Regions from separate parts of the Homo sapiens genome. Here regions 2 and 3 are each linked to region 1. Evidence: promoter capture Hi-C in 16 types of primary human blood cells and fetal thymus (Javierre and others, 2016). All regions are on one chromosome and are shown on one strand. Each heading gives the region's core, a stretch centred on a gene start or on the middle of the fragment in contact. The rest is flanking DNA. Distances are from core to core; before and after follow the strand shown.

Region 1 (3,571 bases), core at 396-2,895:
ACAGGAAGCCATCTAACAAGGAAGGCTGGGAAATGTAGTTTGTGGACTCCCTGCCTAGCCATCATCTCGAAGCAGAGGGTAGGTGAGTATGGGGTTCAAAGATTACAAGCAAGTAACCTGCATAGCAACTTATCAGGAAAAAGAAAAATCCTCCATTAGACAGTAAACTCATAAAGAAAAACCGACTTTAGTTTTTAATCTTTGACAGACTTTATAGACTCTAGGGCCTATCACAGTGCTTGCCATATAAAATGCTCAATCAATATCAACAGATATTTAAGTGAATAATTGCCTATTCTCACCATTGGTAAAATTTAAATCAGTATTCAACTTAAATGATTGCCAGATAATACAACTGATTTTTAAAGAAATACACTTTAACTCATATGGACATAAATATTTTACAGTATCCAAGTAGTGCTGACATTACTCAAGGAATTGTTTAGGACTACTTGTTCAAAATTGTCTTTCAGACCTAGTTCTTCGGAAATACATTATAATTATTTCTATAAAAGTGGGCATGACTAAGTAGAATCTAGTCTTGCCCACTTTTGGCCCAGCCTGACTCAACTGGTTTTGATCTGGATGACTTAATATTATTTCTGAAAATTAAATCTACTCTGAAAGAACAGACTTATTACTAATTTTGTTAAGTACTTACCGCGATTTCCAATTAAACTTGAGGCAACATGATGTCTTACTCCACTTCCGCCACTGTAGGCTTGAAATAAGATGGCAAGTGTGGTGAATAATAATGGTAATAACTCAAATAAGACTTTGGCCTTTGCTGCCATCCTATGAAGACAGAATCACCACCCCCCAGCCCTCACCCCTCACCCCCGCAATCCGAGTAATTTCAGGAAGCTATTTGTTTCCTTATCCTTGGGTTATTTTCAGTTAAGACAAATGTACAAGCACAAAAAGGAGTCTCTTAGCTTCTGACTCCTAGGACATAAACCAAGACACGCTTTACTATCACATACTCATTTCCCTAAAGGGAAGAAGCCAAAAAATGCATACTATAGTAAAATGGGAAACATTTCAAGGGACAGTAAGGTGTGGGGAAGAGTGGGCAGATGTTGTGGCTGTTACCTGCGTGAAGGTAAATAAAATATTAACAATAACAAGCACTTCTACACCGCTATGTGCAAGGTGCTATTTATCCTTTCAATCACAGCTCTGTGAGGTAGACACTTATGACTCCCATTTTACAGATGACAAAACTGAGGCTCACGAAGGTGGTTAACTAGCCAAGGCCACTCGTCTAGGAAGTGAGAGGCCAAGGTTCAATCCTAGGCAATCTGGCTTAAGTTTGTGTTCTGTTAAAAAAAAAAAAATTAAAGGTTATCTGGCAATTTTTTAAACGTCAGGACTGTCATCTGTGGAATCAATTGAAAAGGGAATCAACACTTCAGAAACTGTAATACACCAAGGGAACCTGCTATCCTGGGAAAGAGAGATAAAGGAGAAGTCAGCTGACTGTCCTCCTTCAGACTAGCTCAGACCACCCCAACCTGCGAGGGCCCTGGAGACCCCTGTGGCGCAACAGATCCCTTACTGGGTCCCTTCCAAGTGGCGTCACATAGCAAGCGTCCAGAAGGAGGCGGGACTTCCGGGCCAAGCGAGCCAATTCCGGCCGCGCCGGAAGTCTCTACTGAGGAAAGCTATGAGGATACTCTGTTCGTAAGCTCCCGGTGAATTTTGTTCCACAGACTCGGAAGAAAGGTTGGATAAGAGTTCACTGGAGATTGACAAGTACTCGGGATAGTGAAAAGCCGGAGTTGGAACATGGATAGCCGCTTGCAGGAGATCCGGGAGCGGCAGAAGTTACGGCGACAGCTCCTCGCGCAGCAGGTCCGCGGCCCTGGTGTCCCCTGTGGGAGGGATCGAGAATGCGAGTGCGCGGCCGCCTCCTCCCTCCACACCCCGCCTTTTTCTGTCCCTTCTCTACCTGCCGCTGTTAAGGCCTTTCTGGTCCTGCGATCTTGATCCCTGGTTCTGCCTTTGTAGTTCTCAATTTTCGCGGTGTCCCGAATGTTTTTCCAGTTCCTTCCGCGGTCTTTGTGGTGCTAAACCGAATGCCAGGATTAGCCTTTAAGCTTTGTGGAACTCCCACCGAGTGTCTGGCATGTTCACGCCAGGATGAGTGTCATGTTATCCCCTACATTTCTCTTCACTATTAAATGGTCATCTATTTCTTTCTTTTCTTCGTCGTCAGCCCCAAATTCTTGAGATTGTGGTTTCATTATGAAATACGTTTACAGTATTTTCTTTGACATCTTTCTGAAGACAACACTGGAAGTAGCCTGAGTGTAAATTTTAGATTCTGCATCTTATATAGAGTATCCTTGTCACATCCACAGTTAATATTTGAAATCTTACTCTGTGTTAGTCACAATAATCTCCTGAAACAGGTATTATTACCTTCACTTATCAAGTAATGAAAAAGGCTCCATACGTTAAGGAATTTTACTCCTGGTCGCTCACTTCTCTGCTGGGAAATAGAACCTAGGTTTGTCTCCCCAAAGCTTGTCTTCTAAACCATTGTCCTTCACTTCTTTCTTGTGTATGAGTAAGTTAACATTTGCTGATTAGTAGAGTGCACATGCAGAAAATACAGATTGTGCACAGTTCTACTTAAAATCGAGGCTGTATTTTCCATTCTACTATTCAGATCAGTAAAAGTGATAGGAGCAATGCTCATAGAGTGTAATTAGTCATCTTGCAGTTATTTTTCAGTAATGAAACTTGGTTTTAGTAAATGGACTTCTGAAACCTATCCTCTTTATGGTCTGATGAACAGATTTGTGGAATATGGCTAAAACCGTGGAAACTTGGAGTCAGATTTGTTCCTTTGTTCCTTATCCCGCTGGCATTACGATCTTGGGCAAATCAAGTATCCTTTCTAAGTCTTCTTTTCGCCAACTTCTTTTATCGTATTATCTTCAAAAATGTTAAGTAGCTCTTTGTTGCTACCACAGAAGACGTTTTACTCCTTAATATTGAATTCAAACTTCTATTTGACTCAATATACATTCATAGGACAATTATTTGTTTAGTGTTTTACACTCAGCAGATGCCAGGGGCTCTACCTTTTAAAGTCTTTTATGAATTGGTTGCACTCTACTTAGCCAGCCTTATAACCATTATTTGTTTACATTTGTTTGTATTTTGCAAAATTTTCCAAACTGCCAAACAAAATTTATGTTACCATTTTAAGGTAGTAAAGTTCAGCCTTGTGTCTATAAATAGTAAGACTTAGCTTGAGTAAAACTGGATCGATTTTTATTAGAGCATAGAATAAATAAGTTATATAAGCTGATGCCTACAAAATGTTTAACATGGTACCCACAACCCTGTGCAAACACTGTCTTATCTGCCTTTTTTAGTTATTGCTATTGCAGGTTGAATATCTCTTATCTGAAATGCTTGGGCCAGAAGTGTTTTGGATTTCAGATTTTTTTCAGGATTTGGAATATTTGCATATTACTTACTGGTTGAGCATGCCAAATACCAAAACTCAAAATCGGAATGCTTCAGTGACCATTTCCTTTGAATGTCATGTCAGTAC
Region 2 (3,595 bases), core at 440-2,939, 1.4 Mb after region 1:
GCTAGGGCTACAATGTTTTTGCCAGATTGGAACAGAATTGTCAACTCTAATGAAGATTAAGTAGCTTGCCCAACTACGTTTGTTTTTTTTTTTTTTTTTAGCCTCAGTGAATACTGCTGGCTTTAAAAGTCATAATTATGAAGAATGGAAATATCTCTAAAAGATCTATTTTTAAAAATATATAACTAATAAAATTTAAAATTGAGTAGACAGTTTCCATTTCACAGCTATTCCAATATAAACTTTTATCAGTCACATTGAACAAAATAACTAGAAATATTTCATACATTTAAAAAAAGAATAAGAAATTATTTACAAGTTAAGCCGCAAACAATTCACCAAAAACTGAGTAATTAAGGTTACTTAACAAACAATTCTTCTGATTAGTTGGAAAATTGTTTCATTACTGTTCACAAATTCATACCTGATTTACTCTGTAGACAATATAGATTAGGCATAGGATAAAATCCTCTGTATTTGGTTCCTCCCAATCATTGGTCAAAGTCATCTGACAACAGACTATCTGAGGAAAGTGTAAATACAAAGTCACCCAATAAAACATGAATAAGTTTTGCAAAGCACAGTAAAGGAAAACCAGTTTGTTCTGAACACTTTATTGCTAAAAGGATGTAAAGGGTAAGAGGAAAAAGGTGACGAAACACTCCTTTTGATATGCTTGTTGGGGAGTCAGGATGAACTTCCTTGGCTAGGGATAGAAGGAAGAGATCACCTAAACTTCAAAAACCACAATACAATTTGCATACTTCCTTGGCCAGGGATAGGAGAGACCACTAAACTTCAAAAACCACGACACAATTTGCATGCCCATTGACCCCCAGTTTTACTTGTGCACAAAAGCATGAGAATTAAATAAAAATTCATGTGAAGTGACTAGTAAATAATAAATGCTAAGTGTTTATTCCCCTAATGTATTTATATATTTGTTGCCAGGAATTCCAATGCTGAGTAACCTTGCTTTTCCAATAAGCTTACAGCCTTTAGAACCAAAAGAAAGTCATCTTAATTTGAATATTACAGCATTAGTGACATCTGGTGGAAAATATAAGAGTTACAAAGTAGCATTACATAGCTATTCTGATCTTTCATGTAAATTTTAGATAAATTTTACATACTAAATGAAAACAAGATGAAGAAATGGTCTATGAAGTTATCTACCTTATTGTGCTAATAATCTTTGAATCTATATGCTAAAATATATAGGAAGTCAGTATAATTAGCATTATACTAATAAAAACATTTTTCAGCATGCATGTCTATATAGTGAAAAAATGATTAAAAATAGGCATGGGCTCTTTATCCTATTGTGAGTCTCATAAAAAGGGTCTCTTTTTTAAAGGAGAGCCCATACCTCTCTTTTTATGGCATCACATGCCAAAGAACCTCCCTTAACAAGTTTTCAGATCAAATTGTGAACTGTGGGGTGTGTTAGGAAGTATGTCAAGAAAATAGCTGGTTGTGCTTCAGAGAATATGGAATTTAGGTATATTTGGGAGAGACATTCTGTTTGAGATACTATGGATGGAGGCAACAAACGATGTTTTACAAGTGAGCTTTAAATATTACGGTATCAAATGCTCTGAACTAGGGAGGGGTTCAAGTATTTGTGACCAAAAGAGCAAACTGTGATCTGTTACAGGACTGGTAAGCTACAACCCTGGGGCCGAAGCAAACAGCCATGTTTTTTTCTTATTGGAACACACTCACGCTCATTCATTTATGTATTGTCTATAGCTGCTTTCAGCCTCGAGTAGGTGCAAGAGACCATATGCCTTCAAAAGCAGAACTATTTACTACCTGGCCATTTACAGAAAGTTTGCCAACCTCTAGTCCATTAGATAACTGTCATCAAACTTCTCGGTGCCATTCCCACCACCTCCATGGGAGGAGTATACTTCCTGGTCCCATTAAAGTTAGGCTTGACCTTCACTTGCTTTGGTCAGTGTGAAAAAGCTGGCCTTCAGAGTCCTGACTAACCAATGTCCCTCCAACAGAATGAGAAAGGTGCAGCAAAAGCCAACCAATACATGAGACTGTTATACCTCTGCACAAGCATTCTCACAGAGGTTTGACTTCTCTGATTGATGACACTGGGAAAAGGATCCTGAAAGCCAGATACAGTTCAGTTCCTCCTGGGCTCTACTTCAGACCTTGATGGGCTTAACCTCTGTTCATCCTCTACATATGGTAAGCAACACTGAGCCAGAGTCCAGGCCAGGCCTAGAGGCCTATCATGCTGTCTTAGAACCTTCTCTTTAACATGGTGTAGAAACCACTCACAAGTCTTTCAGCTGTTGATTTAAACATCATCCTCCTGAGGTAAGCCTCAAGGTCTAGAAAGAGGATGGGACAGTCCACTTGGAGCTACAGGGCAAAGCTTTTCCAGTATAGCTTCACCTCAATAAAACTCATAGTTTGGCTCCCACTCAGCTCCAAAATGTGTATTTCTTTTTTATTTATTATTTTTTGAGATGGAGCCTTGCTCTGTCGCCCAGGCTAGAGTACAGTGGCACGGTCTTGGCTCACCGCAACCTCCACCTCATGGGTTCAAGCGATTTCTCCTGCCTCAGCCTCCCAAGTAGCTGAGATGCGCCCGCCACCACGCCCAGCTAATTTTTATATTTTTAGTAGAGACGGGGTTTGACCATCTTGGCCAGGCTGGTCTCAAACTCCTGATCTCGTGATCCACCTGCCTCGGCCTCCCAAAGTGCTGGGATTACAGGCGCGAGCCACTGCGCCCAGCCCAAAATGTGTATTTCTTAATTGATTATATAATCTGTAAGGGGTAAAATGACTCATCATGACTAGCTCTCCAGAAACCTCAGAGTAAATAGTAGCATGCAAATGATACAAAAATCTAAGAATTTAATCCTGTTAATATTGGTAGCTGAGTTGAAATGACCAGAGTATACACACAACCTTTAAAAATGTGATTTCAGCCGGGCGCAGTGGCTCACGCCTGTAATCCCAATGCTTTGTGAGGTCAAGGCGGGCAGATCATGAGGTCAGGAGTTCAAGACTAGCCTGGCCAACATGGTGAAACCCTCTCTCTACTAAAAATATAAAAATTAGCCAGGTGTGGTGGCACGTGCCTGTAATCCCAGCTACTCAGGAGGCTGAGACGGAAGAATGGCTGGAATCCGGGAGGCAGAGGCTGTAGTGAGCTGAGCTGCGTCACTGTACTCCAGCCTGGGCGACAGAATAAGACTCCATCTTGGGGGGGAAAAGTGATTTCGCAGAATTTAGTCTGACTTCTCAAATAGTTAAAATACAAATGAAGCATTTAATTGCCACTTTTCTTGAAATCATCTAGGTTGGTAACACCAGTGGTCCACTTATTCCATAAAGATATGAAGAGTCTACAAATTTGTCACTGAGAACCCAGAAACTGCCACTGATCCACAGTATTTGCTCAATATGTAATTTCTGAATGAACAGATTCAGACTATGTGCAATTACTTAAAAATAGTGAAGGTTAAATAAGTTAATACACATAAAGAACTTAGTGTCTAATAATAAACATTAATAAACTGAATTTTTACAAAATGAGGTCAGATTTAGATTAGAGATTAGAGAA
Region 3 (3,230 bases), core at 437-2,936, 1.4 Mb after region 1:
GATATTTTAATAATTTTAATGAATGTGTTCAAAAACAATGGTTTAAGCAGTTTTTTAACCCTTTTTTTTTTAAAAAAATATCAAAACAATACCTTCCTATTAGTTTGGGAACTAATTAAATGCATTGTTTGACCTTTTAGTTAGTTTTGGAACTAATTTGTAATTTAGAAAAATTATAGTTTAGAGAACTCTGTTTCCAAACTTTTCAATTGTACAGATGAGACTTTTTTAAAAAATAGTTTATCCAGGCCAGGTGCGGTGGCTCATGCCTGTAATCCCAGCACTTTGGGAGGCTGAGGAGGGCGGATGACGAGGTCAGGAGATTGAGACCATCCTGGCTAACACAGTGAAACCCTGTAAAAAAAAAAAAAATACAAAAAATTAGCCGGGTGTGGTGGCGGGCACCTGTAGTCCCAGCTACTCAGGAGGCTGAGGCAGGAGAATGGCATGAACCCGGGAGCTGGAGCTTGCAGTGAGCTGAGATCGTGCCACTGCATTCCAACCTGGGTGACAGAGCGAGACTCCATCTCAAAAAAAAAAAAAAGTTTATTCAAACGTGCTCCTTCCATAACATGAGTGTCTTTTGAAAAACGGAATGGAAGAATGTTAATTTTTCTGAAGTTCTTGTTAGCACAGTACTGCAAAGAGAAAGAGCCAGTAAATCTGGCACAGCTGACTTGCATTTCCTCAGGGTACCAATCATGGCCTATGACTCCCTTTTTTTTCTAAATTTTTAAAACTGACAAATAATAATTGTACATATTTACAGGGTGCATAGTGATGTTGTGGTCTATACAATGTATAGTGATCAGATCAGGGTAATCAGCCTATCTATCATCTTAAACATTTATAATTTCTTTGTGTTTCAAACATTCAATATCCCCATTCTAGCTATTTTAAACTATTATTAACTTGTAGGATGTAGTCATCCTACAAGTGCTGTAGAACACTAGAACTTACTCTTATCTAGCTGTAATTTTGTTTCCTTTAACAAATCTCTCTGTCCTCTCTTTCCGCCTACCCTTCCCAGCCTCTAGTATTCTCTGTTGTACTTTTTACTTCTGTGGGATCAACTTTTTTAACTTCCACATATGAGTAAGAACGTGACCTTCTGACATGGAGACTGTGTGAGTGTGCAATGTCAGTCCATTTTTTGAAATCCATTTTTTTAGTAAAGCTTATTTTCCTAGGTTAAAACATAAATTAAATAGAAGTTGTAACATTCCTTCCTATACTCCCAAAAGGATTGTTTTTTGCATATATTCCACTTTGGAAGCCACTGATTTTGAGGATGTTTGCAGAAACCTTATTGATTAGGGGATGAGGCACCTGAGTTGGGAATAGTAGTGTTCCGTGCTTGTCCTCTCTTCTAGGTAAATATGGAATAGACCTAGTTAGGATGGCTGACCTGCATGCCTATGTGGAAATTTGAAGTATCATTCTTTTTTTTTTTTTTTTTTTTCTGAGACAGAGTCTTGCTCTTTCACCCAGGCTGGAGCGTGGTGGCACCATCTCAGCTCACTGCAATCATCGCCTCTCAGGTTCAAGTGATCCTTATTCCTCAGCCTCCTGTGTAGCTGGGATTACATGCATGCACCATCACACCCAGCTAATTGTTGTATTTTTTAGTGGAGACAAGGTTTCGATGGTCTTGCACTCCTGGCCTCAAGTGATTCACCCACCTTGACCTCCCAAAGTGCTGGGATTACAAGTGTGAGCCGCCATGCCCGGCGTGAGCTATCATTCTTTATAATGGACTTTGCAGAACAATCCTGTAAGGAAAATACATTCTTATTGGGAAGGAGTGCTCCAGACTCTTGAACCCCATCTATTTACCACTGCCCAAAGCACAGAATAAAAGCCATCTTAGGGGTTTCAACAAATCCTGTCATAAAAGTCCACTTAGATCACATAAAAAAAAAAAACTTTATTACTGGTTGCATAATGAGGGAGTGTCATGGTCTTGTCTAAAAGAAGCAGGAATCTCCAAGCAATCTACCAACAGCAGAGATCACATGCAGATATGTCAAAAAAAGATGTTAGCCTAGCATGTTCCAGAGAAACTTCTTAGAAGCAGACTATCTGGACAATTTAAGAAGAATTATATAGGAGTTATTTTCCTTATCGGTAAAATGGATGTAACAATAGTACTTGTCACATATAATTTTTCTGAGTATTACATGAGATAATTTAAATGAAGCTTTGGCTTAATGCTAATATGTTATTGTTATTGTTTTATTATTATATTGTTACTGTTGTTGTTAATAAGACAGCTTTTCACCACTTTTCCACGCACCTTTCCTGGGTTGGTACATGTTTAGTTTAGCATAACTAAAGGAGGCTTTAGATAATACAACTTAAGGCACAGATGAGATAGAAACTCTTATAACATATATAATAATGATAGCCAACATTATTAACCACATACTATCTGCCAGGCACATTTCTATGTGCTTTACAAGAATCATTTTATTTAATCCCTCATTAGCTCAAGAGTTAGATACTACTATTACCTGAATTAAGTTACAGAAGGAAGTTGAATAATTTAGCTAAGGTCACCCAGCTAGGAGAACTGGAGTCAAATCCAAGCAATCTAGATGGTACCAGAATATGAATCCTGAAAGCATCAAAGATCTGACTATATTTTAGATAACTCTAATTTGAGGCAAACTATAGTGGGTCCTTAATATTCCTCCATCCTTGCTATGTAACTCCTGAGACCCATTCAGCAATGGAAACCAATGGAGCTGAATGGCTGGAAAGTCACAGAATTGGAACAAGGAAAATAATCCAAAAGTGGAAGAAAAGAGTCCAAAACTGGAGGAAAAGAAACAAGAGGTAGGATCCAGGGTGCAATACTGGCTCATCTGGCTAAGAGTGGATGGCCAAAAGGGGTACCCTGACTAGGGCTGCAAAAACAGGAATTTTTTAAAAATTTTGTGCTTAAAAGATCTTGTCAATTTTCTACTTAAAAGATCTTCAGTGAACTAAGAGGAGGCATTAAACAAATATTCTGGCCAAGGGATAGAATGGCATTTGAAATAGCCTACTCTTTGTCCTGCCAATTTTATTGATAGCTCAGACAAAAGGAAATGAGAATATGCAATACAGCAGGAATGTAAAAAGATGACAAATTTGAGAGACATTTTAAAAATGTGTTGAGATGTGTTTGGTTGTACTCTGAAGAACAGCCTGGGTTTTGGGGGATCATGGTGTGGAGCTGTTATACA

Evidence for each region. The method cuts DNA at HindIII sites, captures the fragments that hold promoters and counts their contacts. A CHiCAGO score of 5 or more calls a contact.
Region 2: a contact is called between a fragment that was not itself captured here and the fragment with the promoter of METTL14 in region 1, in 1 of 17 cell types (total CD4 T cells). The highest score is 5.3, in total CD4 T cells.
Region 3: a fragment that was not itself captured here is called in contact with the fragment with the promoter of METTL14 in region 1 in 1 of 17 cell types (total B cells); the score reaches 7.1 in total B cells.

The regions. Positions count from the first base shown.
Region 1 is chr4:118,683,747-118,687,317 of GRCh38, forward strand. METTL14 (methyltransferase 14, N6-adenosine-methyltransferase non-catalytic subunit) reads left to right here and starts at 1,646. Exons shown (of 11, transcript NM_020961.4): 1 at 1,646-1,854. The coding sequence starts at 1,789. METTL14-DT (METTL14 divergent transcript) reads right to left here and starts at 1,595. Exons shown (of 7, transcript NR_125930.1): 1 at 1,559-1,595; 2 at 662-721. RefSeq lists enhancers at 1,605-1,864, 2,045-2,184. The HindIII fragment of the contact is 9,570 bases long and covers 1-2,097 here.
Region 2 is chr4:120,055,395-120,058,989 of GRCh38, forward strand. MAD2L1 (mitotic arrest deficient 2 like 1) reads right to left here. Exons shown (of 5, transcript NM_002358.4): 5 at 229-3,595. Among named protein-coding and RNA genes, the nearest start is that of MAD2L1, 9.7 kb to the right of the region's middle. The HindIII fragment of the contact is 1,407 bases long and covers 987-2,393 here.
Region 3 is chr4:120,075,284-120,078,513 of GRCh38, forward strand. The region is part of intron 1 of MAD2L1-DT (MAD2L1 divergent transcript); the gene reads left to right. Among named protein-coding and RNA genes, the nearest start is that of MAD2L1-DT, 9.9 kb to the left of the region's middle. The HindIII fragment of the contact is 1,023 bases long and covers 1,176-2,198 here.